6 separate regions of the Homo sapiens genome follow, and regions 2, 3, 4, 5 and 6 are each linked to region 1. The links are contacts of gene promoters, found by promoter capture Hi-C in human tissues and cell types (Jung and others, 2019). All regions are on one chromosome and are shown on one strand. The core of a region is centred on a gene start or on the middle of the fragment in contact, and the rest is flanking DNA. Distances in the headings are between cores, read along the strand shown.

What was found. Contacts are between HindIII fragments. The study calls those that stand out against the background at their distance.
Region 2: a contact is called between a fragment that was not itself captured here and the fragment with the promoter of COMMD5 in region 1, in 9 of the 25 tissues and cell types used here (IMR-90 fibroblasts, adrenal gland, bladder and 6 more).
Region 3: a contact is called between a fragment that was not itself captured here and the fragment with the promoter of COMMD5 in region 1, in 2 of the 25 tissues and cell types used here (lymphoblastoid cells and mesendoderm cells).
Region 4: a contact is called between a fragment that was not itself captured here and the fragment with the promoter of COMMD5 in region 1, in 5 of the 25 tissues and cell types used here (IMR-90 fibroblasts, heart right ventricle, lymphoblastoid cells and 2 more).
Region 5: a contact is called between a fragment that was not itself captured here and the fragment with the promoter of COMMD5 in region 1, in 5 of the 25 tissues and cell types used here (H1 embryonic stem cells, bladder, lymphoblastoid cells and 2 more).
Region 6: a contact is called between a fragment that was not itself captured here and the fragment with the promoter of COMMD5 in region 1, in 5 of the 25 tissues and cell types used here (dorsolateral prefrontal cortex, heart left ventricle, mesenchymal stem cells and 2 more).

What each region holds. Positions count from the first base shown.
Region 1 is chr8:144,850,841-144,855,218 of GRCh38, reverse strand. It overlaps COMMD5 (COMM domain containing 5), which reads left to right and starts at 2,171. Exons shown (of 2, transcript NM_014066.4): 1 at 2,171-2,380; 2 at 3,824-4,378. The coding sequence starts at 3,881. RefSeq lists enhancers at 1,551-1,650, 2,201-2,530, 2,108-2,956 and silencers at 1,941-2,130, 4,163-4,314. The HindIII fragment of the contact is 6,847 bases long and covers 1-4,378 here.
Region 2 is chr8:145,071,396-145,075,992 of GRCh38, reverse strand. No RefSeq gene overlaps it. Among named protein-coding and RNA genes, the nearest start is that of C8orf33, 21 kb to the right of the region's middle. The HindIII fragment of the contact is 6,005 bases long and covers 210-4,597 here.
Region 3 is chr8:144,700,255-144,704,447 of GRCh38, reverse strand. LOC100996662 (a long non-coding RNA gene) reads right to left here and starts at 4,057. Exons shown (of 3, transcript XR_001746144.3): 1 at 3,970-4,057. It also overlaps a transcript of ARHGAP39 not described here. RefSeq lists an enhancer at 1,815-3,014. The HindIII fragment of the contact is 4,670 bases long and covers 1-4,126 here.
Region 4 is chr8:144,658,560-144,663,228 of GRCh38, reverse strand. All of the region lies in intron 1 of ARHGAP39 (Rho GTPase activating protein 39), which reads left to right. Among named protein-coding and RNA genes, the nearest start is that of ARHGAP39, 25 kb to the left of the region's middle. The HindIII fragment of the contact is 7,618 bases long and covers 1-4,669 here.
Region 5 is chr8:145,024,147-145,028,621 of GRCh38, reverse strand. It overlaps the pseudogene LOC124902043. Among named protein-coding and RNA genes, the nearest start is that of ZNF252P-AS1, 24 kb to the right of the region's middle. The HindIII fragment of the contact is 6,073 bases long and covers 1-4,475 here.
Region 6 is chr8:145,043,052-145,047,218 of GRCh38, reverse strand. No RefSeq gene overlaps it. Among named protein-coding and RNA genes, the nearest start is that of C8orf33, 7.3 kb to the left of the region's middle. The HindIII fragment of the contact is 3,904 bases long and covers 1-3,785 here.

The sequences.
Region 1 (4,378 bases), core at 922-3,421:
AACAAAAAGTGAGAAAGAAACAGAAGATAAATAGCCAGATGACCTTGGTGCCATCACCTGGCCCTGGTGTTAATAATATCAACCCCTAACCTAAACTACTTGTGTTATCTGTAAATTCCAGACATTGTATAAGAAAGCATTGTAAAACTTTCTGTTCTGTTAGCTGATGCTTGTAGCCTCCAGTCATGTTCTCCATGCTTTCCCAGTCTATCATAATAACCCTTTCACGTGGACCCTTTAGGGTTGTAAGCCCTTAAAAGGGCCAGTAATTTCTTTTTCGAGGAGCTCAGCTCTTAAGACACAAGTCTGCCAAAGCTCCCAGCCAAATAAAACCCCTTCCTTCTTTAACCCAGTGTCTGAGAAGTTTTGTCTGTGGCTCATCCTGCTACAATAAGATGAGAGTTCTCCAGGCACTCCAGGCACTCTGGCCTTTGGGTGGGAACTGTCTCCAAAACTCACCCCCAGGTTCCTGGCTCTCCTCACTTCAGGAGGGGGTGGGTCTGCCACGTAACCACCGCCCAGACCTCACAAGTGATAGCACTTCACCTTTTTGCTTCAGATATTTTAAAGAGAAATAACACCTTACAGATGCAGTCTCTTTCTAAACTTCCCAGATCCATTCCCTTTAAACAATCCTCCCTCAGCATGGTTTTTAGACTTGATTTGTTTTGTCTTAGAAATGGAGTCTTGCCATGTTCCCCAGGCTGGTCTCAAATTCCTGAACTGAAGTGGTCCTCACTCTGCCTCTCAAATAGCTGGGACTATAGGTTGCCCTCACCTCCTGCTGTGAGGTCAGTTCCTAACAGGCCACTGACCTGTAGCGGTCCACAGCCTGAGGGTTGGGGACCCCTGCTATAGGTGCACACCACCACACCTGTTTTTTTTTTTAATTTTGTAAAAATGAAGCCTTGATATGTCGCCCAGGCTGGTCTTGAACTCCTAGCCTCAAGTGGTCCTCCCACCTAGTCCTCATAAAGTACTGGGATTGTAGGCATGAGCCACTGCACCCAGTCTCCACTCCTATTTATTATTGAACACTATTCCATTGTATGGCTGATGTGGTTTGCATCTGTGTCCCCGCCCAAACCTCATGCTGAAAGGTAATACCCAATGCTGGAGGTGGAGACTGGTGGGAAGTGATTGGATCGTGGGGGTGGCTTTTCATGAATGGTTTAGTACCATGCCCTTAAGTTATGGTCTCATGATAGAGTTCTCCTGAGATCTGGTTGTCCACCTCCGCCTCCCAAAGTGCTGGGATTACAGGCGTGAGCCACCGCACCCAACCTGTCATTTTTATTATAACCCTTCTAATGGTATGAAATGGCACCTCCCCGTGGCTTCCATTCGCATTTCTCTAATAGCCAACAATGCCGAAGGCTTCATGTACCCATTACCCACTTTGTATCTTCCTTGATGTCTACTCACATCTTCTGCCCATTTAATTAGGTTGTTTCCCTTTTCAGAGTTTTTTTTTTTTTTTTAAGTTTTATTGGGCTATAATTCACATACCATATAATTCACCCATTTTGTACAATTCAATGATTTTGGCATATTATTTTTTAACTATGGTAAAGTACATGTTAAATAAAATGGCTCGGCCATTGTTTCGGACCGAGCTCCTGCGCTAGGGCCCAACAGAGCAGCCCAAAGCGGAACCGAGTCACGCGCGCCGGACGCCACCCGACAGGAGGGGAAACGGGGCAGCTCTCAAAACCCTGGAGGCGCAGACCGTCCACACGGGACAGGGACGCCCGCTCGGCTCCGCTCCGCGCTGATCCTCAAGGTCTCGCGGTTTCCCCGCCGCCCACCCGGACGCCGACGAAAGCCAGCGAGCTCCTCAGCCTCAGGTGACTGGAATTCTGACCCCAGACCACGGGACGCGTTCTCCCGCTTTACCCTCACTCTGCGCGGGCGGGGAGGGAGACGCGGGCGCAGGCCGCAGTTTCTACCTCAGAAACGGAAACACAACACCGCCTTCTTTTTCTTTGGGGAAAGAAAAAAAAAAAACTGTCTAAGACGAGGTCTGGGACCCCGCCGGCGACCCCCGATTCCCCCGGGCGGGGAGGGGGCGGGACCTGGCGCGGCCTCGGCTCCGCCCCTCGGGCCAGCGGACCACAGTGGGGCGGTCATTGCTGCCTTCCTAGAGCGGCCCGGAAGTGGCTCTCAGGGCGCTTCCGGGGACCAGGCCCGCTTTTGGCTGCATCAGCCGGGGATTGCCGGCGCCAGGTGCTGGGGGCGACTCGGACAGCGGGAGCGTGGGGTGGAGTAGGATGGAGTCTCCCTCCCGAGCTGGGGGTGTGGGCCTAGGAAAGGCTGCTTCGCCGCTGTGTTCGGAGAGCTCTGGATACTGCGGGGCTTTTCCGCGGAGGAGCGCCCGCCGGTAGGTTGGCCCCGAACCGTGGGGGCGGCGACGGCCGAGTGCCAATTTGACTCTGTGCACCAAGGTCCCCGCGCCCCGGAACGGGCGACGCCGCGCCCCCATCAGAGCCGCGGGTACGGAGTCAGGGTGCGAACCCGGCCTTCCAAGCCGCGCGACCGGAAGCGGGCAGCTCGGAGGCCTTCCCGGATGGCTCTTTGGAGTGGGAAGGAGCTCCTGGTGCTGGCGGGACGGTGAAGGAGTTGGCAGTGGGTGGTCGTTGACTCCCAGGGAGAATGGGGCGCCGTGAAGCCCGTGGGGAGCTCCTGGGCTCCCCCAGCGCTGTGCAGAGTGGCCTGACAAGTGCCTCGAGGACAGGAGCTGTGCCCCGCTGAGCTCTGCTCCAGTACCTGGTGTGCTGAGGTGGGCACGTGCGTTTCCTCTGGCATAGCAGGTGCTTGTGCTGCTGCACTGCTCCTTCAGGTGCGTCGGAACCCTCTTTAGTTGCCGCACTTGCCTCTGTTGCCAGCCGTTGCTCAGCTCTTCCAGCCCGGGGGTTGGGGCTGTGGTGGAAACAGCTGGGACTTCTGAATAGACAGGTCTAGGCTTCAGTCCTTGACTTTGGCAGCTGTGTTTAGAGCTTTGATTTCTTTTTACTTTTCTTTTCTTCTTCCCTGCCTCCCCTCCCTCCCCCCTCCCTCCATTCGTTCGTTCCTTCCTTCCTTCCTCACAGCATCTCTGTTGTCCAGGCTGGAGTGCAGCGGCTCGATTTCGTCTCACTGCAGCCACGACTTCCTGGGCTCAAGGGATCCTCTGTCCTCTCAGCCTTCTGAGTAGCTGGGACTACAGACGTGCACCACCACGCCTGGCTAGTTTTTTAAATTTTTTGTAGAAACGGGGTCTTGCTATGATGCCCAGGTTGGTCTCCAACTCCTGGGCTCAAGCGATCCGCTGGCCTCACCTTCACAAAGTGCTGAGATTTCAGGCTTGAGCCACTGCACCTGGCCTAGAGCCTTATCTCCCTCTCTGTCAGGTGAGAATGGTAATTCTTCTTGCCCACTGTTGTGAAGGATTCAAGATTGAATAGTTAAATGGTCTCAGTGTGGTCTGTGGCGCCAGCTGCAGTGTCCCTGTGTTCCCCGGACCGTTCCCCTAGTTCATTCTTTCATCTATTAATTTACTTGGAGAACTTGTGCTGTTTCCTGGTCCTCCTCCCTGCCCCCTACTTCTCTGCCAATTCCTGCTTGTCCTTCATGCCTTAGATGTCACTTCCTCTGGGAGGCCTCCGCTCCTCCTGGGACTGACATGGACCCCTCTGCCACCTGCTTCCAGGGCCATCTCCGCAGCACTGACTGTCATTGGTAGTTCACACTGTCAGCATGCTGATGATGGGGACCATATCAACCCTCACTCGCTGGCCCAAAGGATGTGAGAGTCACTGGTCTTCTCTCCTCCACCCCACTCTAGGCATCTGCATCTGGGACCGACCTCCTGGGCTGGCTGATCAAAGAGGAAGCAGCAGCAATGTCTGCTGTGGGGGCTGCAACTCCATACCTGCATCATCCTGGTGATAGTCACAGTGGCCGAGTGAGTTTCTTGGGGGCCCAGCTTCCTCCAGAGGTGGCAGCAATGGCCCGGCTACTAGGGGACCTAGACAGGAGCACGTTCAGAAAGTTGCTGAAGTTTGTGGTCAGCAGCCTGCAGGGGGAGGACTGCCGAGAGGCTGTGCAGCGTCTTGGGGTCAGCGCCAACCTGCCGGAGGAGCAGCTGGGTGCCCTGCTGGCAGGCATGCACACACTGCTCCAGCAGGCCCTCCGTCTGCCCCCCACCAGCCTGAAGCCTGACACCTTCAGGGACCAGCTCCAGGAGCTCTGCATCCCCCAAGACCTGGTCGGGGACTTGGCCAGCGTGGTATTTGGGAGCCAGCGGCCCCTCCTTGATTCTGTGGCCCAGCAGCAGGGGGCCTGGCTGCCGCATGTTGCTGACTTTCGGTGGCGGGTGGATGTAGCAATCTCCACCAGT
Region 2 (4,597 bases), core at 1,963-4,462, 220 kb before region 1:
GCTCGACCCACAGGGAGTGAGGAAAAGCAAATGGGGTGATGGCCCACCCAGGTGTGGCAAGAAGCTAAGGGAGCCCCCCACTCGCAGCCAAGGGGGGCGGTTAGGGATTGTGCGACTCTGCCCGGGAAACCATGCTTCTCCCAGGGATCTTTGCAACCTGCAGATCAGGAGGTCCCCTGGTGAGCTCAGCCATGGCCTTGGGTCTGAAGCAAAGAGCTGTGTAGAGTCTCGGCGGAGTGCTCGCTGGCTCACTGGGGCATGCGTGGAAACCCAGGAGTTTTGCATCCTCTGCCCCGAGAATTCCAGCAAATCGGGAGATAAATCCGTGCATTTCCCTAGGAAGGGGGCTGAATCCAGGGAGCCAAGTGACATCATTCTGAGGCCCCACTCCCACAGCACCTCACAAGACCCATTAGCTTGGAATTCCAGCTGGCCAGCGGCAGCAGGCTCGAGACAGCCGGAGATGGACCGAGTTCCCGGGGGAGGGCAGCCGCTCTATCTGTGGTTTGAGTTGGCTGCTCTAGCCTGCTGGCACTAGGGACCAGGAGGAATTCCCCATAACACAGCACAGCTGCTGAGCCTGATCGTGGCCAGGCTGCTTCTTTAAGTGAGACCAAAATCCATCCCTCCTCACTGGACAGGGCCTCCCCATCGGAATTTTAGCAACTCCAGCCAGAGTTCTATGGACAGAACTCTGATTTCTCCCTGGGATGAAGTCCCCAAGGAGAGGGGTAGCTGCTGTCTCCCCAGTTCAGCCGACTCAGCCTTCCCAGCCTGCTGGCTCTGGAGAATCCCGGAGATCAGTACAGCACTCCTGCTCTGCCAAAGGTCAGCAATGTCAAAGATCAAAGGTAGATAAGCCCACAAAGATGAGAAAGCATCAACACAAAAATGCTGAAAACTCAAAAAGGCAGAATGCCTCTTCTCATCTAAATGACAACACCTCCCCAGCAAGGGCACAGAACCGACCCAAGGCTGAGATGGCTGAATTGACAAAAGTAGGCTTTAGGAGGTGGGTAATAACAAACCTCACTGAGCTAAAGAAGCACATTCTAACTTAATGCAAGGAAGCTAAAAATCATAAAAGAAATTAGAGAAGCTGATAACCAGAATATTCAGTTTAGAGAGGAACATAACTGACCCGATAGACCTGAGAAACACAACACGAGAACTTCACAATGCAACCACAAGTATCACTAGCAGAATAGGCCAAGTGGAGGAAAGAATCTCAGAGCTTCAAAACCATCTGTCTAAGACAGGAAGAGAGAATAGAGAAAAAAGAACAGAGAAGAATAGAGAAAAAAGACCAAAAAAGAATGAACAAAACCTTCAAGACATATGGGATTATGTAAAAAGACTGAACCTAACACTGATAAGGGTACCTTGACCCACCACGATCAAGATGGCTTCATCCCTGGGATACAAGGTTGGTTCAACACAGGCAAATCTATAAATGTAATTCCTCACATACACAGAACTAAACACAAAAACAACACGATTATCTCAACAGATGCAGAAAAGGCCTTCAATAAAATTCAACATCGCTTCATGTCAAAAACTCTCAATAAACTAGCTATTGAAGGATCACACCTCAAAATAATAAGAGCCATATATGACAAACCCACAGCCAATATCATACTGAATGAGCAAAAGCTGGAAGCATTCCCCTTGAAAACAGGCACAAGACAAGGATGGCCTCTCTCACCACTCCTATTCAACATAGTACTGGAATCTCAGCCCAAAAGCTTCTTAAGCTGATGAATCACATCAACAGAATCTCAGGATACAAAATCAATGTGCAAAAATCGCTAGTATTCCTATACATCAACAACAGGCAAGTAGAGAGCCAAATCATGAATGAACTTCATTCACAATTGCTACAAAGAGAATAAAATACATAGGAATACAGCTAACAAGCGAAGTGAAGAACCTCTTCAAGGAGGACTACAAACCACTGCCCAGAGAAATCAGATAGGACACAAATAAATGGAGAAGCATTCCATGCTCATGGATAGGGAAGAATTAATTCATGAAAATGGCCGTACTGCCCAAAGTAATTTATAGAAGAATTCAATGCTATTCCCATTAAACTACCAATGACATTCTTCACAGAATTAGAAGAAACTATTTTACAATTCTCATGAAGCAAAAAAGAGCCCAAATAGCCAAGACAATTCTAAGCAAAAAGAACAAAGCTGGAGGCATCACACTACCCAACTTCAAACTATACTATAAGGCTACAGTAACCAAAACAGCATGGTACTGGTACAAAAACAGACACATAGACCAATGAAACAGAATACAGAACTCTGAAATAAGACCATACACATACAACCATCTGATCTTTGACAAACCTGACAAACACAAGCAATGGGAAAGGATTCCTTATTTAATAAATCATGTTGGGAAAACTGGCTAGCCATATGCAGAAAACTGAAACTGGACATCTTCCTTACACCTTATACAAAAAAAATAACTCAAGATGGAATAAAGACTTAAACATAAGACCTAAAACCATAAAAACCCTGGAAGAAACCTTGGCAATACCATTCAGGACATAGGCATGGGCAAAGACTTTATGACTAAAACACCAAAAGCAACGGCAACAGAAGCCAAAATTGACAAATGGGATCTAATTAAACTAAAGAGCTTCTGGACAGCAAAATAAACTCATCAGAGTGAACAGACAACCTACAGACTGGGAGAAAATTTTTGCAATCTGTCTGACAAAGGGCTAATATCCAGAATCTACAAAGAACTTAAACAAATTTACAAGAAAAAAACAACCCCATCAAAAAGTGGCCAAAGGAAAAGAACAGATGCTTCTCAAAAGAAGACATTTATGTGGCCAAAAAACATATTGAAAAAAGCTCATCATCACTGGTCATTAGATAAATGCAAATCAAAACCACAATGAGATACCATCTCACACCAGTTAGAATGGCCATTATTAAAAAGTCAGGAAACAACAGATGCTGACGAGGCTGTGGAGAAATAGGAATGCTTTTACACTGTTGGTAGGAGTGTAAATTAGTTGGTAGGAGTGTAAATCCCATTATGGGGTATATACCCAAAGCATTATAAATTATTATACTATAAAGACACATGCACTGTATGTTTATTTCAGCACTCTTCACAATAGCAAAGACTTGGAACCAACCCAAATTCCCATCAATGATAAACTGGATAAAGAAAATGTGGCGCATATACACCATGGAATACTACGAATTTATGTCCTTTCCAGGGACATGGATGAAGCTGGAAACCATCATTCTCAGCAAACTAACACAAGAAAAGAAAACCAGACCAGGAGCAGTGGCTCATGCCTGTAGTCTCAGAACTTTGGGAGGCCGAGGTGGGCAGATCATCTGAGGTGGGGAGCTTGAGACCAGCCTGACCAACATGGAGAAACCCCGTCTTTACTAAAAATACACACAATTAGCCAGGCATGTTGGCACATGCCTGTAATCCTAGCTACTTGGGAGGCTGAGGCAGGAGAGTCGCTTGAACCCGGGAGGCAGAGGTTGCGGTAACCCAAGATCATGCCATTGCACTCCAACCTGGGCAACAAGAGTGAAATTTTGTCTCAAAAAAAAAAAAAGAAAGAAAAAGAAGAAAAGAAAACCAAACACTGCATGTTCTCACTTATAAGTGGGAGTTGAGCAAAGAGAACACATGGACACAGGGAGGGGAACATCACACACTGGGGCCTGTCGGGGGGTGGGAGGCTGGGGGAGGAATAGCATTAGGAGAAATACCTAATGTAGATGACGGGTTGATGGGTGCAGCAAACACCATGGCACGTGTATACCTATGTAACAAACCTGCATGCTCTGCCCATGTATCCCAGAACTTAAAGTACAACAAAGAAAATGTCACATAAATGCATAAAGTCTAGAACAGCTAATAAATTATAATGAAATGTCAACTATAATTCCAGCTCAAAGAGAACACCATGAAACCGTCTGAAACCTGGGAGGCAAGACCAAGCCCAGACAACCCTTGCAGAGTGACCCTGAAGAAGACGACAAGCCCTGCTCCAGTCACACCCGGAAGCTGACTGGTCCACGCACGGCCGAAGCATGAGGAAGCTCATCGTGGGATTCATTTTTCTTAAATTTTGGACTTACACAGTAAGGGCTTCAATTGACCTTACTCAAACTGGGGACTGTTCCCAGAGTATTCATCAGGTCACCGAGGTAGGACAGCAAATTAAAACAAACTTTCTGTTCTATAGTTATTATGAATGTATGGGAACATTAAAAGAAACTTGTTTGTATAATGCCACTCAGTACAAGGTATGTAGCCCAGGAAATGACCGACCCGATGTGTGTTATAACCCATCTGAGCCCCCTGCAACCACCGTTTTTGAAATAAGATTAAGAACTGGCCTTTTCCTAGGTGACACAAGTAAAATAATAACTAGAACAGTAGAAAAAGGAAGCCCCAAACAAATAACTTTAAGATTTGATGCTCGTGCAGCCATTAATAGTAACAAGTTAGGAACACGATGTGGTTCTCTTAACTGGGAAAGGAGCTACAGAGTACAAAATAAATATGTTTGTCATGAGTCAGGGGTTTGTGAAAATTGTGCCTT
Region 3 (4,193 bases), core at 542-3,041, 150 kb after region 1:
ACAGCCCTGTCCATCTTGAGGCCTCAGCTCTGCAGCCTCCCTGCACCCCCTCGAAAGAGGCCACCACAAAAGAAGCCACCATGGCATCATGGTTGCAGGTGGAGGGGCACGGCCTGAGCTGGACCCTGGAAAGGTGGTCAGCAGGGGTCTCTCCCCAGCAGCTGGGCCCAGGGGGTTGGGGGCAAGCCATAATTGGCTGCATGTCACCTCAACCACCTCTGCCTCATGGACAGCAGAGACCACGACTCCACCCACTGGGGCATGAAGGGCAGGGAGTGTTAATCTGTGTGGGCTCCATGTTACACCTAGAACATGGGGTATAACACAGATAGATGGCCACACATGGTCACAAGTCAGTGTCCTAAAGAGAAACAAAAAGCAGGGAAGCTATTCCAGATTAAAACAGCCAGCGAGGTGCGGTGGCTTAGGCCTGTAATCCTAGCACTTTGGGAGGCCAAGGCAGGCAGATCCTTTGAGTCCAGGAGTTTGAGACTAGCCTGGGTAACATGGTAAGACTTGGTCTCTATAAAAAAATACAAAAAATTAGCCAGGCGTGGTGGCACATTCCTGTAGTTCCAGCTACTCGGGAGGCTGAGGTGGGAGGATCACCTAAGCCTGGGAGGATGAGGATGCAATGAGCCATGATGGCGCCACTGCACTCCAGCCTTGGGGACAGAGTGAGACCTTGTTTCCAAAAAAAAAAAAAAAAAAAAAAAAAAAAGGCCGGGCTCACGCCTGTAATCCCAGCACTTGGGGAGGCCAAGGCAGGCAGATCACGAGGTCAGGAGATCGAGCGTCCTGGCTAACACGGTGAAACCCCGTCTCTACTAAAAATACAAAAAATTAGCTGGGCATGGTGGCAGGCGCCTGTAGTCCCAGCTACTCGGGAGGCTGAGGCAGGAGAATGGCTTGAACCCAGGAGAAGGAGCTTGCGGTGAGCCGAGATCACGCCACTGCACTCCAGCCTGGGCGACAGAGCGAGACTCTGTCTCAAAAAAAAAAAAAAAAAAAACAGCCTGAAGAGACACAATTAAATGCAACATGCAATCTTGATTAGCTTCTGAATTAGAGGGGAAAAACCCAGCTATGCAGACATTTTAGAGACAATTGGAGAAATAAGTTATGTGACCACAGGATTTTTGCTTTTGTTTGTTTTTTTGAGACGGAGTCTCACTCTGTCGCCAGGCTGGAGTGCAGTGGCACGATCTTGGCTCACCACCACCTCTGCCTCCTGAGTTCAAGTGATTTTCCTGCCTCAGCCTCCCAAGTAGCTGGGACTACAGGTGCATGCCAACACACCCAGCTAATTTTTGTATTTTTAGTAGAGATGGGGTTTCACCATGTTGGCCAGGATGGTCTCGATCTCTTGACCTCGTGATCCACCCACCTCAGCCTCCCAAAGTGCTAAGATTACAGGCATGAGCCACCGTGCCCGGGGACCACGGGATAATTGTTAATTTTCTCAGGTGAAATAAAGTATTGCTATCATGTAAGAAAATGTCCTCATCTCTAGGAAATAGGCTGAGGTACCTAAGGGAAAGTGTCATGATGTCTACAAATTACAGCTGACCCTGAAACAACACAGGTTTGAACTGCAAGGGTCAGTTATAATTGGATTTTCTTCCAACTCAGTCACCCCTGAGATTGCAAGACCAATCCTCCTCTTCCTCCTCTTCCTCAGACTACTCAATGTGAAGACAATGAGGATGAAGACTTTTATGATGATCCACTTTCACTTAATGAATATTAAATATATTATGTCTTCCTTATGATTTTCTGAACACCATTTTCTTTTCTCTAGCTTATCTAAAGAATAGAGTATATAATACATATAACATAAAAAATGTGTTAATTGACTATGTTATGCGTAAGGCTTCCAGTCAACAGTAGGCTATTAGTAGTTAAATTTTAGGGGAGTTAAAAGTTATGCTTTGATTTTCAACTGCACAGGGGTCACTGCCCCAACCCCTTTATTATTCAAGGGTCAACGGTATTTTCAAATTACTTTTCAGCAGCAAAAAGTAAATATATTCAAAGATACAGCCAGTGTGGCAAAATGTCAACAACTATAGAATCTAAATGAAGAGTTTATGGTGTTCATAATACTTTTCTGTGGATTTGAACATTCTCAAAATTAAGAGCAGTGTGGAAAGTAAAAAGTTCCTCTTCAAAGTTTCTTCTTTAAATCAGAAATGTTATTGGTATTTTCTCTCAGAGCTAGTTCTATTCAAGCTTGTTATTTTATAGTGATAACTCTGTTATGCCTTATATAGCAAATGTAACAGAATAAGCATACCGTATGCCTGTATACTCTGACTTCAGTATTTGTGTTAGACATTTTCACAGACATGTAGTACATTCTGTGTCCTTGTACCTTAACCGAAATATTCGTGCTGGACGTGCCCAGACATGTCCCAGCTTGCAGCCTATGCCCCTTCCTTATTCAGAAATGTTATTACTGTTCTAAAGTCCTTTCGTAAGCAACTTCCTCTTTTCCTTTGTTCCTCATTGTCTTTACCTATTTAGAAAGTTTTAAATTGTTAACCAATTAAGTTCAGCCTAGAATGTGAGGTCCAACTCAGCCAACGGAGATAGGACACAGCAGTAGGGACCTCATGCGTTAGGGATACATATTCCTGTCTCCCTTTGTTCGGTGTACTCTCTTGGCAAGACTGCTGGCAAGCAGTACCATTTCTGCAGAAAGTAAAGTTGCCTTGCTGAGAGTACTTTTTGTCTAAATGCTGCCTCTTCCTTGCGACACCAGGGAATGAGCATTTATTTCTAACAAGCAGCAATGGAAGACATCACTCTGGCTTCTTGCAGAGGGCAGTCTGGAGGCAGGAGAGGACACGGGAGGAAACCTGTGGTCCAGGGCACAGGTTGGGGTCCAGTGGCCCTTTCCTATCTCAGTGCTCCACGTTTGCTAAGTCAGAGGTACCACCTGTCATCACCATCCCATGGCCATTCATGCTTGAGAGGAGAGTCCTGCACAGACAGAGCCAGGCTCTGCTCCACATTTCCCTCTTTATGCTATTCCCTGGCCCCCACCACCCCCAGCACGCTTCCGGCCCAAGAGCCGTGCAGGGACAGCAGGGCAGCTTCTAGATATCTTGTAGGGCATTGGACGTGAGAAGAAGAGCTGAGAGAGGAGCCCTGGGTGATCCTTGAGTGGAATCAATGAATGAACGAATGATTTCCTCTCACTTCCTCGAGTTTACTTCATATTGGTGGATTGTCTCAGGAAGACTCCAAAAGTGATTGCCACCACTCAGCTTTCTGGCAGTACAAGTGGGGAAAACGCAGGGCTGAGGATGAGGCCAGAGGTGGGAGTCTCGCTTGTCCCTTCCCAACTTTCACCAGACAAAATGGCGGACCCCGCCCAGAGACCACGCCCCTCACCTTAGAGGACACAGCTCCTAGACAACTCCCTTCATCCTGCACTAACCTCACCCCGAAACCACGTCATTCACCCTTCACATATCCTGCTCCAGGAACACTCCCCTCACCCTTCACAGACCCGCACCACCGGCAACATGGCTCTCACCCTTCACAGCCCCTCATGCCGGAAAAACTCTCCTCATCCTTCACAAACACCCCCACCCCAGGAACATGCCCCTCACCCTTCACAGACCCTCATTCGGGGAACAAGCTCCTCACCCTACACAGACCTGCCCCCCATGACCACACCCCTCACCCAACCCAGGGACCCCGCCCCTTGCCTTTATAGACTCCGACCCGCGACCGCACATCCTGCAGAGACCCGGCCTCGCCCCTGCATCCTTCGTAGATCCCGCCCTGTGACCACACCCCTCGCCCTTCATAGGCACTGGCCCGCGGCCGTGCACGCCCCGCTTTTATTGGCTCCGCTCCGTGACCACGCCCCCGCAACCTTGATAGACTCCACCCCCGAGGACCCTTCTCAGGAGCACAGTGACCCCGCCTCCACAGGGTCCGCTCCGCCACACTGACCCTTCCGTGTCGCTCGCGGGACCCCACCCCTGTCCGCCTGCTCCGGTGCCCATGGGGAAGCCTGGTGCCAGGGGTCACCAGTCAGTCCAATTCACCGCCCGACTGGTGGGACAAGGACAGGTCAGCGGGTCACAGGCCGGAAGTGAGACTCGCCCGGCCGCTCTGGGACGCGGGAAGACCGAGGCCTCGGTGGTTCCCCTCTCTCCCGCCTGGCTCCCTCAGGA
Region 4 (4,669 bases), core at 1,608-4,107, 190 kb after region 1:
GGTATTCCTTTATAGCAGCACAAACAGGGGCTTTAGTGACCAAGAGGCCAAGTGAGGAAGGTTAACCAGGGAGGAGAGAGTGGTCCAAGGTGGATAATAGGGAGGGGGGAGTGGGCCAAGGGGGATAATGGGGAGGAGGGAGCAGTCCAAGATGGATAATGGGGGGTGGGGAGTGACCCAAGATGGATAATGGGGAGGTGAGGAGCGGCCCAAAGTGGAAAATGGGGAGGACTGGTCCAAGGTGAATAATGGGGAGAAGGGAGTGACCCAAGGTGAGTAATGGGGTGTGGGGAGCAGTCCAAGGTGGATAATGGGGGTGGGGGATAGGCCCGAGGTGGATAATGGGGAGTGGGGAGTGGTTCAAGGTGGATAATGGGGAGTGGTGAGCGGTTTAAGGTGGCTAATGGGGATGGGGGGAGTGGCCCAAGGTGGATAAGGGGGAGGGGGAAACAGTCCAAGGTGGATAATGGGGAGGAGGGAGCTGGCCAAGGTGGATAATGGGGAGGCGGGTAATGGCCCAAGGTGGATAATAGGGAGTGGGGAGCAGTCCAAAGCGGATAATGGGGAGGAGGAGTGATCCAAGGTGGATAATGGGGAGTGGGGAGCGGCCCAAGGTGGATAATCGGGAGGGAGAGTGGTCCAAGGTGGATAAGTGGGAGGGGGAGCGGTCCAAGGTGGATAATGTGGAGGAAGGAGGGGTTCAAGGTGGATAATGCTGACGGGGAGCAGTCCAAGGTGGATAATGGGGAGGGGAGGAGTGACCCAAGGTGGATAATGGGGAGGCGGGTAGCGGCCCAAGGTGGATGATGGGGAGGGGAGAGCTGTCCAAGCTGGATAATAATGGGGAGTGGAACGTGGTCCAAGGTGGATAACGGGGAGAGGGGAATCGCTCTAAGGCGGATAGTAGGGAGGGGGAGTGGTCCAAGGTGGATAAACGGGGAGTCGGGGAATGGTCCAAGGTGGATAATGGGGAGGAAGGAGGGGTTCAAGGTGGATAATGCTGACGGGGGAGCGGTCCAAGGCGGATAATGGGGAGGGTGGAGTGATCCAAGGTGGATAATGGGGAGAGAAAGTGACCCAGGGTGGAAAATGGGGAAGGTGAGCGGTCCAAGTTGGATAATGGGGAAGGGGAGCAAGCCAAGGCAGATAATGGGGAGTGGGGAGTGGTCCAAGGCAGATAATGGGATGTGGGGAACGGTCCAAGGTGGATAATGGGGATGAGGGAAGAGGCCCAAGGTGGATAATGGGGAGGGTGAGCAGTCCAAAGTGGATAACGGGGAAGAGGAAGCTGTCCAAGGTGGATAATGGAGATGCGGAAAGGGGGGCGGGGTGGGGGGTTGTCCAAGGTGAATAGTGGGGAGAGGGAGCAGTTCGAGGTGGATAATGGGGAGGAGGGAACAGTTCAAGGTGGATAATAGAGACACAGGAGGGGTCCAAGGTGGATAATGGAGAGGCGGGTAGTGGCCCAAGGCTGCAGTGAGCTGTGATCACACCACTGCACTCCAGCCTGGGCAACACAGCAAACCCCGTCTCGTTCATTCATTCATTTGTATGGTGGCTCCCACCTATAGTCTCAGTATTGTGGGAGGCTGAGGCGGGCAGATCAGTTGAGGGCAGGAGTTCGAGACCAGCCTGGTGGCCAGATGGCCTCAGGCCTTGGGCTGGTGTGAGGATTGGGAGGGGAGAAAGGGGAAGGCTGGTTAGAGGCTGTTTTCCTCTGAATGTGTTTAGCGGCAGGTGTGGATGGGGAGTGCTGGGTTAACCACAGGTGTTTGCCAGGTAAGCATGGGCCCAAGAGAGTTGAGACTATCACAGGAGTGAGGGTGCTGTTCCTGTTAGAAGGAAAGAGACCGAGGCCAGGTGGCTGGTGTGTGGAGCCCACCTCTGCAGGAGTGTCACGCGCGAATGCGCAAAGAGGAGCCGGGGAGAGGCTGAGATGTTGCTCACAGAGCTTTGGGAGCCTTGTGTGTGTAGAGTGGAATGGCCTCCTCCTGTGTGTAGAGTGGAATGGCCTCCTCTGCTCCACACTGCCTGTGTGTGAAGGGGCCATGGTGGTCCCGGAGTGGGTGAAGCTGCTGGGACCCTGTGTAGGACTGCATGTGTTTTCACGGCGGTGCTGAGAGGGCCGTCTGCAGCCAGACTGGACTGCAGCCTCCATCTCCTGGGCACAGGTGATCCTCCTGCCTCAGTCTCCTGAGCAGCTGGGACTACAGAGTCGTGTGCCACCATGCCTATTTTTTTTTTGAGATGGAGTCTCATTCTGTCACCCAGGCTGGAGTGCGATGGCACAATCTCAGCTCACTGCAAACCTCCACCTCCCAGGTTCAAGCAATTCTCCTGCCTCAGCGTCCCGAGTAGCTGGGACTACAGATGGACACCACCACTCTCAGCTAAGTTTTTTTTGTATTTTTAGTAGAGACAGGATTTCACCATGTTGGCCAGACTGGTCTCAAACTCCTGACCTCAAGTGATCTGCCTGCCTCGGCCTCCCAAAGTGCTGGGATTATAGGGGTGAGCCACCCACCCAGCCTTTTAAAAAATTATTCATTTATTTATTTAGAGATGGTTTTTATTGGAACAGAGCAGAAGTAGGAAGTCAGTCTGGGCCAAGATCCTGAGAGAAGTGTTTTCTAGAGCCTGCTGTCCTATGTGTGGCTGCTGAGCACGGAATCATGGCTTGCAAGACTGAGTATTAAATATTACTCAACTTTACTTTAAGCATAGTGACAAGTGACTAGTGTGTTGCACAGTGCAGTTCCAAGGAATGTGCTCATGCAAGGATTGTCCCTTTATTTTAGAGGCACCAGTGAATGCTTATCACGATGAAAGTGATGTGACCTTGGCTGGCTTTTTTGGAGATTCTTTAATATGGTAGTAGGGGTGAGATGGGGTTAGGGGAGGAAAGGCTGAAAGCATGAATAATCTTATATTATTTAACCAGAGGCCAGCAAGAGGGAATTCAGTCTTGAATTTGTGAGAGACCATTCAGGCTTGTGGGAATAGGTGCTGCAGAGCTGACGCCAAGGTGCCCTGGATGGGATGGACAGTGGTGGAGACCTAGGGTCCAGGAGGAGGAGACACGGGAGCATTCCACACCTTTGACCCAGGGGTCGGGGGCAGAGTGGCATGTGCTGTGGACAGAAAGAGATGCACAATGCAAGTGCATGTGGTGGTTGGGAAGAGTGATCTGGGGAGGAGGAGCATTGTGATTCAGGTGAGGGAACACCACCCAAGGAATGTCCATCTGGCATTTGTAAACTGAGGTGAACCTGGCATTTGGGAGAGAGGTGGTTGGGTAGAGAATTGGGACTTAGCTACAGAGGGATTATAACGGAGACTGGGGGAACAGAATGAGGAGTTCAAAGGGTAGCATGTAGAGGGAAATGCATCTTGGGGCGTCCCACAGTTAGAGTGGGGCTTGAATAAGTGGACCCCTCAAGACAGCCAGAGAATGGGGATGAGAGAAGCAATTGTTAGCTTAGCTCTGCAGAGAGCATGTGTCAGTGAGCTGTGAAGGGGTGGCAGAGCATCAGAACCAGCGAATAAGCCAAGGCCGGAAGATTTTGCAAAAAATTGTTTGGGATTCTCTGATTGCTTTGTTTAGGTCCCATGAAATAGTCTAGAAAATGTCCTCCAATTAAGCTTGAACTTGGAACATTGACTTAGAAATAACACTTGTCTCTCCACTCTTAGATCAGAGGGCTGGTGTGATTGAAAAGTGGGCACTCATTGGCCTCAGAGACGTTTTGTCATGGTTAAGACAGGACTCAATGGAAACAGAAAGTTGAACACGTGAAACTTTAGTTTTTTGTAGGTCAAAAACGATTGAAAAAGGCAACATCGTTTGATCATATCTAATTGTGTTAAGAAGCATTCTTCAAATGAGCAGCTTCCCAGCACGTGTTGGGAGTTACCAGGTGTTTCCTCCAAGCCTTCAGGGTGTGAATGTGTGGTTAGGCTGGTGGTAGGCTAATGGCTCTGGTCAGCATGTTGCTGGTTATCTAGCTGCCTGTCATTTTGATTACAGTAATTATGTCCTTTACAGTGTATATTATTAATTGCTGTTTGTGTCGAGTTCCCTGGGAAGTGGACTCTGAGTTGATTTGTCTTTAGGAAGTTTACTGAGGAATGCTTTTGGGATTAGCACCTGTGGAGTGAGTGAACAGAATAGGATTGGACAGAAAGACAATGGGGCTATTACACCCTAACCCTGTTGGGCTGCCACATCCATGAACCTGGTACACCTCCCCATGATTCAGGTCCTCTTAAATGTCTTTCATCAGTACTTTGTACTACTCAGTGCATGTATTTTGCCAAACTTATTTCTAATATTGGTTAAATTTAATATTTACCCCAATATTAAACATTAATATTTAATGTTTTAATTTTTTTACATATATAATCATTTTGTCTATGAATATAGTTTTATTTCTTCTTTCCTAATCCTTCTACCTTTTCTTTTTCCTGCCTTATTGCACTGGCTAGGACCTCCGGTAATGTGTCATGTTAGAGTAGTGAGGGGAAAGCAGTCAGTCTTTCGCTGTTTGTTATGATACACAGTCATCCCTCAGTGTCCATGGGGAATGGTTTTAGGACACCCTGTGGATACCAAAATTCAAGGATGATCAGGTCCCTGATTAAAAAATGCTGTAGTGGCCAGGCGCAGTAG
Region 5 (4,475 bases), core at 798-3,297, 170 kb before region 1:
CGTGCCTTGTTAACAAAATGTTTACAAGCAGTATACTTGGTAAAAGTCATCGCCATTCTCTAGAGTCAACAAACCAGGGGCATAATCCACTGCGGAAAGCCGCAGGGACCTCTGTTCTTGAAAGCTGGGTATTGTCCAAGGTTTCTCCCCATATGATAGTCTGAAATATGACCTCATGGGATGAGAAAGACCTGACCATCCCCCAGCCTGACACCCATAAAGGGTCTGTGCTGAGGTGGATTGGTAAAAGAGGAAAGCCTCTTGCAGTTGAGATAGAGGAAGGCCACCATCTCCTACCTGCCCCTGGGAACTGAAGGTCTTGGTATAAAACCCGATTGTACATTTGTTCAATTCTGAGATAGGAGAAAAACTGCCCTATGGTGGGAGGCGAGACATGTTGGCAGCAATGCTGCCTTGTTATTCTTTACTCCACTGAGATGTTTGGGTGGAGAGAAACATAAATCTGGCCTACGTGCCCATCCAGGCATAGTACCTTCCCTTGAACTTAATTATGACATAGATTCTTTTATTCACATGTTTTTTGCTGACCTTCTCCTTATTATCACCCTGCTCTCCTACTACATTCCTTTCTGCTGAAATCATGAAAATAATAATCAATAAAAACTGAGGGAACTCAGAGACCGGTGCTGGTGCAGGTCCTTGGTGTGCTGAGTGCCGCTCTCCTGGGCCCACTGTTGTTTCTCTATACTTTGTCTCTCTGTCTTATTTCTTTTCTCAGTCTCTCATCCCACCCAACTAGAAATACTCACAGGTGTGGAGGGGCAGGCCACCCCTTCATCTGCCACCCAACGTGGGTGCCTTTCTCTAGGGTGAAGCTATGCTAAGAATGTGAGCATCGAGGACAGCCGACGAGAGATTCCCGAGTACGTCCACGGTCAGCCTTCCGGTAACCTTGTGCACTCAGAGGAATCCAGGGTAACAATGGGGCAAACTGAAAGTAAATATGCCTCTTATCTCAGCTTCATTAAAATTCTCTTAAGAAGAGGGGGAGTTAAAGCTTCTACGGAAAATCTAATTACACTGTTTCAAACAACAGAACAATTCTGCCCATGGTTTCCAGAACAGGGAACTTTAGATTTAAAAGATTGGGAAAAAATTGGCAAATAATTAAAACAAGCAAGTAGGGAAGGTAAAATCATCCCACTTACAGTATGGAATGATTGGGCCATTATTAAAGCAACTTTAGAACCATTTCAAACAGGAGAAGATAGCGTTTCAGTTTCTGATGCCCCTGAAAGCTGTGTAATAGATTGTGAAGAAGAGACAGGAACAGAGTTCAAGAAAGGAATGGAAAGTTCACATTATAAAAATGTAGTAGAGTCTGTAATGGCTCAGTCAATGCAAAATGTTGACTATAATCAATTACAGGAGGTAATATATCCTGAATCATCAAAATTGGGGGAAGGAGGTCCAGAATTATTCGGGCCATCAGAGTTTAGACCACGATGGCCACCAACTCCTTCTCCTGTGGTTCAGATGCCTGTGACATTACAACCTCAAATGCCAATACAGACACAGTATCTACAATATCAGCTGGTTGAAAATAAAACCCAACCACTGGTAGTTTATCAACACTGGCCGCCAGCCGAATTTCAGTATCGGCCATCTCCAGAGGTGCAGTATAGATCCCAGATGGGATCCTGTGCCAAATAGTAGGGCACTATATCAACAACCCACGGCGATGGTGTTTGATCCTACAGTACCAGCTAGTGGACAAGATAGTGCACTGCATGAGACCGTTGATACAGCCAGAAAACAGGGAGATCTTGAGGCATGGCAGTATCCGGTAATGTTACAACCGATACCGGCCGGGAAAGGGCCAGGAAAGGGAGTCAAGCAGGAGCGTCTGTCCGAACGGAGGCTAGGTAAGAATATTTCACCATGAAAATGTTAAAAGACATAAAGGAAGGAGCTAAACAATATGGACCCAACTCTCCTTATATGAGAACGTTATTAGATTCCATTGCTCATGGAAATAGACTTATTCCTTATGATTGGGAAATTTTACCTAAATCTTCCCTTTCACCCTCTCAGTATCTACAGTTTAAAACCTGGTGGATTGATGGAGTACAAGAACAGGTACGGAAAAATCAGGCTACTTATCCTGTTGTTAATATAGATGCAGACCAATTGCTAGGAACACGTCCAAATTGGAGCACTATTAACCAACAATCAGTAATGCAAAATGAGGCTATTGAACAACTAGGGGCTATTTGCCTCAGGGCCTGGGAAAAGATTCAGGACCCAGGAACCAGTTAGAGACAGTTTTCAGACTGTTATATCATTCATTATGTTGATGATATTTTGTGTGCTGCAGAAACAAGAGACAAATTAATTGACTTTTACATGTTTCTGCAGACAGAGGTTGCAAACACAGGCCTGACAATAGCATCTGATAAGATTCAGACCTCCACTCCTTTTAATTATTTGGGAATGCAGGTAGAGGAAAGAAAAATTAAACCACAAAAAATAGAAATAAGAAAAGACACATTAAGAACATTAAATGACTTTCAAAAATTGCTAGGAGATATTAATTGGATTGGGCCAACTCTAGGCATTCCTACTTATGCCATGTCAAATTTGTTTTCTATCTTGAGAGGGGATCCAGACTTGAATGGTAAAAGAACAATAACTCCAGAGGCAACTAAAGAAATTGAATTAGTTGAAGAAAAAATTAATTCAGCACAAGTAAATAGAATAGATCACTTAGCCCCACTCCAATTTTTGATTTTTGCTACTGCACATTCTCCAACAGGCATTATTGTTCAAAATACAGATCTTGTGGAGTGGTCATTCCTTCCTCACAGTACAGTTAAGACTTTTACATTGTACTTAGATCAAATGGCTACATTAATTGGTCAGACAAGACTACGAATAGTAAAATTGTGTGGAAGTGACCCAGATAAAATCATTGTTCCTTTAAACAAGGAACAGGTTAGACAAGCCTTTATCAATTCTGCTGCATGGCAGATTGGTCTAGCTGATTTTGTGGGAATTATTGATAATCATTACCCAGAAACAAAAATCTTCCAGTTTTTAAAATTGACTACTTGGATTTTACCTAAAATTACCAGACAAAAACCTTTAGAAAATGCTCTGACAGTGTTTACTGATGGTTTCAGCAATGGAAAAGTGGCTTACACTGGGCCAAAAGAATGAGTCATTGAAACTCAATATCACTCAGCTCAAAGAGCAGAATTGGTTGCTGTCACTTCAGTGTTACAAGATTTTAATCAGCCTATTAACATTGTTTCAGATTCTGCATATATAGTACAGGCTACAAAGGCTACAAAGCTCTAATCAAATATAGTATGGATTATCAGTTAAATCATCTGTTTAAATTGTTACAACAAACTGTAAGAAAAAGAAATTTCCCAGTTTATATTACTCATATTCGAGCACATACTAATTTACCAGGGCAATTAACTAAGGAAAATGAACAAGCTGACTTGCTAGTATCATCTGCCTTGATGGAAGCACAAGAACTTCATGTCCTGACTCATGTAAATGCAACAGGATTAAAAAATAAATTTGATATCACATGGAAACAGGCAAAAAATATTGTACAACATTGTGCTCAGTGTCAAGTCTTACACCTGCCCACTCAGGAGGCAGGAGTTAATCTCAGAGATTTATGTCCTAATGCATTATGGCAAATGGATGTCACACATGTACCTTCATTTGGAAAATTGTCATTTGTCCGCGTGACAGTTGATACTTATTCACATTTCATATGGGCAACCTGCCAGACAGGAGAAAGTACTTCCCATGTTAAAATACATTTATTATCTTATTTTGCTGTCATGGGAGTTCCAGAAAAAATTAAAACAGATAATGGGCCAGGATACTGTAGTAAAGCATTTCAAAAATTCTTAAATCAGTGGAAAATTACACATACAACAGGAATCCCTTATAATTCCCAAGGACAGGCCATAATTGAAAGAACTAATAGAACACTCAAAGCTCAATTGGTTAAACAAAAAAGGGAAAAAGACAGTAAGGAGTATAACACTTCCCAGATGAACTTAATCTAGCACCCTATACTTTAAATTTTTTAAACATTTATAGAAATCAGACCACTACTTCTGCAGAACAACATTTTACTGGTAAAAAGAACAGCCCACATGAGGGAAAACTGATTTGGTGGAAAGACAACAAAAGTAAAACTTGGGAAACAGGGAAGGTGATAACATGGGGGAGAGGTTTTTCTTGTGTTTCACCAGGAGAAAATCAGCTTCCTGTTTGGATACCCACTAGACATTTGAAGTTCTACAATAAACCCATCCCATCAGAAATGCAAATAAAAGTGCCTCCACAGAGACAAAAAACCTGCAGTTGAGCATCATCGACCCACCAGGTGAACAAAATGGTGATATCAGAAGAACAGATGAAGTTGCCATCCACCAAGAAAGCGGAGCCGCCAACCTGGGCCCAGCTAAAGAAGCTGACACAGT
Region 6 (4,167 bases), core at 584-3,083, 190 kb before region 1:
TTTGGATGGATCAGTATCACTGCCTGGAAATCTCTCTCTTGTAAAGAAAGGAAAATATTTGATCTGTCATCTGCAAGATGTTTGTAATGATTTTCTCAGTCTCTCTAATTTCTTTTTTTTTTTTTTTTGAGATAGAGTCTTGCTCTGTTGCCCAGGCTAGAGTGCTGTGGGGCAATCTTGGCTCACTGCACCCTCCACCTCCTGGGTCCAAGCAATTCTCCTGCCTCAGCCTCCTGAGTAGCTGGAATTACAGGCGCCTGCCACTGTGCCCAGCTACTTTTTGCATTTTTAGTAGAGACAGGGTTTCACCATATTGTCCAGGCTGGTCTCGAACTCCTGACCTCATGATCCACCTGCCTCAGCCTCCCAAAGTGCTGGGATTACAGGCGTGAGCCACCACACCTGGCCCCCAGTCTCCCTAATTTTTATAAGTTTCTTCAAGCTTGGCTTCCTGCAGAATGTTACATATAAATCTTTCCAATATCCACCTCCCACCTCAAGTGGCTCTCTTTCTTTTTTTTTTTTTTTTTTTTTTTTTTTTTTGAGATGGAGTCTTGCTCTGTCACCCAGACTGGAGTGCAGTGGTGCGATTTTGGCTCACTGCAAGCTCCGCCTCCTGAGTTCATGCCATTCTCCTGCCTCAGCCTCCCCAGCAGCTGGGACTACAGGCGCACACTGCCACGCCTGGCTACTTTTTTTGTATTTTTAGTAGAGACAGGGTTTCACCGTGTTAGCCAGGATGGTCTCGATCTCCTGACCTCATGATCAGCCTGCCTCGGCCTCCCAAAGTGCTGGGATTACAAGTGTAAGCCACAGTGTTGGGCCTCAAGTGGCTCTATTTATTTAAAAACTTCCATGTTTGTAGTTAGCTGGGTCTCAGAATCTGAAACAATCAAGAAAAAAGCATAGAAAACCATAACTAGCCAGGCGTGGTGGCTCACACGTGTAATCTCAGCACTTTGGGAGGCCGAGGCAGGTGGATCACCTGAGGTCAGGAGATCGAGACCAGCCTGGCCAACATGGTGAAACTCTGTCTCTACAAAAAATACAAAATTAGCCAGGTGTGGTGGCACATGCCTGTAATCCCCACCACTTGGGAGGCTGAGGCAGGAGAATCACTTGAGCCCGGGAGGTGGAGGTTGCAGTAAGCTGAGATTGCACCATTGTACTCCAGCCTGGGCAACAAGAGCAAAACTCCATCTCCAAAAAGAAGAAAAGAAAACCATAACTAAGAAAGTAATCAAATGAAATATGTAATACATGTAGTTATGTGGCAAACAGATTCAGGAGTATCTAAAAGCAGCCTTCCAAACACCAAGAGGTCAATAACAGTCCATGATCACCCCCAGGCAATACAGACACTTGGGGATTCTGGATTTCTTTTCATGTCTCTTAAATAGTGGTCCCTGGTACAGCTAGGTAGTAGATGAAGGCAGTTTAACTAAGCTCCATTCAGGGCCCAGTGTTTGTAGATGGTCAATGATGACACTTCATCAGGGTTATGGATGCTGTGTCTCAGCCCCATGGGACTGCTTAGGGAAAGAACACACAGGAGGAAGCTAAGGCACAGAACTGACCCCGTCACTGAGCCTAGTGCCTGCTGAGTGCTCACGCACACTGACAGTAAAAATGCCAGTATGGCCCAGTTTTAACGGAACCCACACACTTTCATGAGCTTTACCTCCTGAAGCCATAACAGGTTCTCACAGTGAAGATCTAAGAAAAAAAATCCCTTCATGCTTCCAGCAGTGGGAGGGGGAAATTAGCCATTCTGAAATATGCCCAGAGCGTATGGTTCTTCATAAAGCCCAACCTCAGGAGAAACTATTTTACCAGAGCCTAACCTGCTGAGGTTTTACCAGAGACAAACTGACCTGGGGAAAGGGAAATACCCAACTCCAACCTGCTCTAGCCTTTCTGTCTCATCTAAGGGGGATAAACCAATACAAAACTCAGAAGCACTTGTGAGGGTCACAATTTCACTGAAAGACTGAGACATACTCATAAGATTATGTGATGTTTCCCCTCCCTTCATATCTTACCCCAGCACTAGAGATCCTGAATAGTTAGGGGAGAATATAACTGAAAGAACTGTGTGTCTCAAACTTCAAGAAGTCTCTAGGATAACCCAAAGGCAACAAGGGAGACCAAAACAAGGACGCTGGAGACATTTTAGCCTCTGATACTGACAGCTGCAGCAAACAGAAAACGCAGCCTAACCGCGGGCCAGATAAAAACCTCACACTAAAGGCCTAACTATCAGTTCCTTTTAACCAGTGCATCGTATCTCACTTTCAATAAAATGTTACCACACGTTCTAGACACACAAAAAATATAGAATTTGAAAAGAAAAAGCAAGCATAAGAACCAAACTGAGCTTATGGCAGAGATGTTGGAAATATCAGACCTTGAATTTTTAAGACTATGATTAATATGCAAAGGGTTTTAATGGAAAGTGAGAACAATATGCAAGAACAGATAGGTAATATAAGCAGAGAAATGGAAACACTAAGAAAGAATCAAAAGAAAATGCTAGAAATCAAAAACATCATGACAGAAATAAAGACTGCCACCTGTAATCCCAGCACTTTGGGAAACCAAGGTGGGTGGATCACTTGAGGTCAGGAGTTTGAGACCAGTCTGGCCAAAATGGTGAAACACCATCTCTACTAAAAATTCAAAAATTAGCCGGGCATGGTGGCACACACCTGTAGTCCCAGCTACTCGGGAGTCTGAGGTAGGAGAATCATTTGAACCCAGGAGGCAGAGGTTACAGTGAGCCAGCCTGGGCAACAGAACAAGACTCCATCTCAAAACAACAACAACAAAAGGACTGGACACAACTGAAGAAAGAATCAATGATCCTGAAGACATGTCAGTAGAAACTTTCAAAATAGAAATGCTAAGAGAAAAAAAGAATAAAAAGGATGAAACAGAACATCCAAGAACTGTGGGACAACTGCAAAAGGTGTAACATATGCATATTGGGAATACCAGAAGAAGAATGAAGGAAAGGAACAGAAGAAATATTTGAGCCAATTGTAATAAAATTTTGCAAAATTAATAACATGCACCAAACCACAGTTCCAGAAAGTACAGACAACACCAGCAAGATAAATACCAAAATTCTATACACAAACATACCATATTCAAACTGCAGAAAATGAAGAACAAAAAAAATCTTCAAAGAAGCCGGAGGGCCAGACACGGTTGCTCATGCCCGCAATCCCAGTGCTTTGGGATGCCAAGGCGGGTGGATCACCTGAGGTCAGGAGTTCCAGACCAGCCTGACCAACATGGTGAAAACCCGTCTCTACTAAAAATACAAAAATTAGCCGGGTGTCGTGATGCATGCCTGTATTCCCAGCTACTTGGGAGGCCTGAGGCAGGAGAATTGCTTGAGCCTGGGAGGCAGAGGTTGCAGTGACCCGAGACTGCACCATTGCACTCCAGCCTGGCCAACAAGAGAAAAACTCCATTCAAAAAAAAAGGCAAGAAAGAAAAAAACTAAGCAAGGGTAAGCATTATATCAGTTTTATCTTCCAAAAAATGTTAAAAGTAACACCAGCCCCGATTCTGTATAAAGTGGCATTATCTTTCAAAAATGAAGGAGAAATAAAAACTCTCTCAGACAAAAATTGAGGGAATTTATTGCCCGTAGATCTAACCTTGCAAGAACTATTAAAATAACTTCTTCAGAGAGGGGGAAATGATAAATCAGAAACTAGTATCTACATAAAGAAAGGAAGAGCATTAGAGGCAAAATCAATAAAGGTAAATAAAATATTTTAGTTTTCTTATTCTCAATTATCTAATGGATAACAGTTTGTTTGAATTAATAATAGCAATGTATTTGGTGATTGTAGTGAAATGAATGATAGCAAAGTGGAGTTTTTTGTTTGTTGTTTGAGACAGAGTCCCACTCTGTTGCCCAGGCTGGAGAGCAGTGGCACGATCATGACTCACTGCAATCTCCACCTCCCAGGCTCAAGTGATCCTCCTGCCTCAGCCTCCTGAGTAGCTGGGACTACAGGCATGTGCCAATATACTTGGCTAATTTTGTTGCCCAGGCTGCTCTGGAACTCCTGGGCTCAAGCAACTGCCTGGACCTCCCAAAGTGTTGGGATTACAGACGTGAGCCACTGCACCTAGCTGATAGCAATGTTA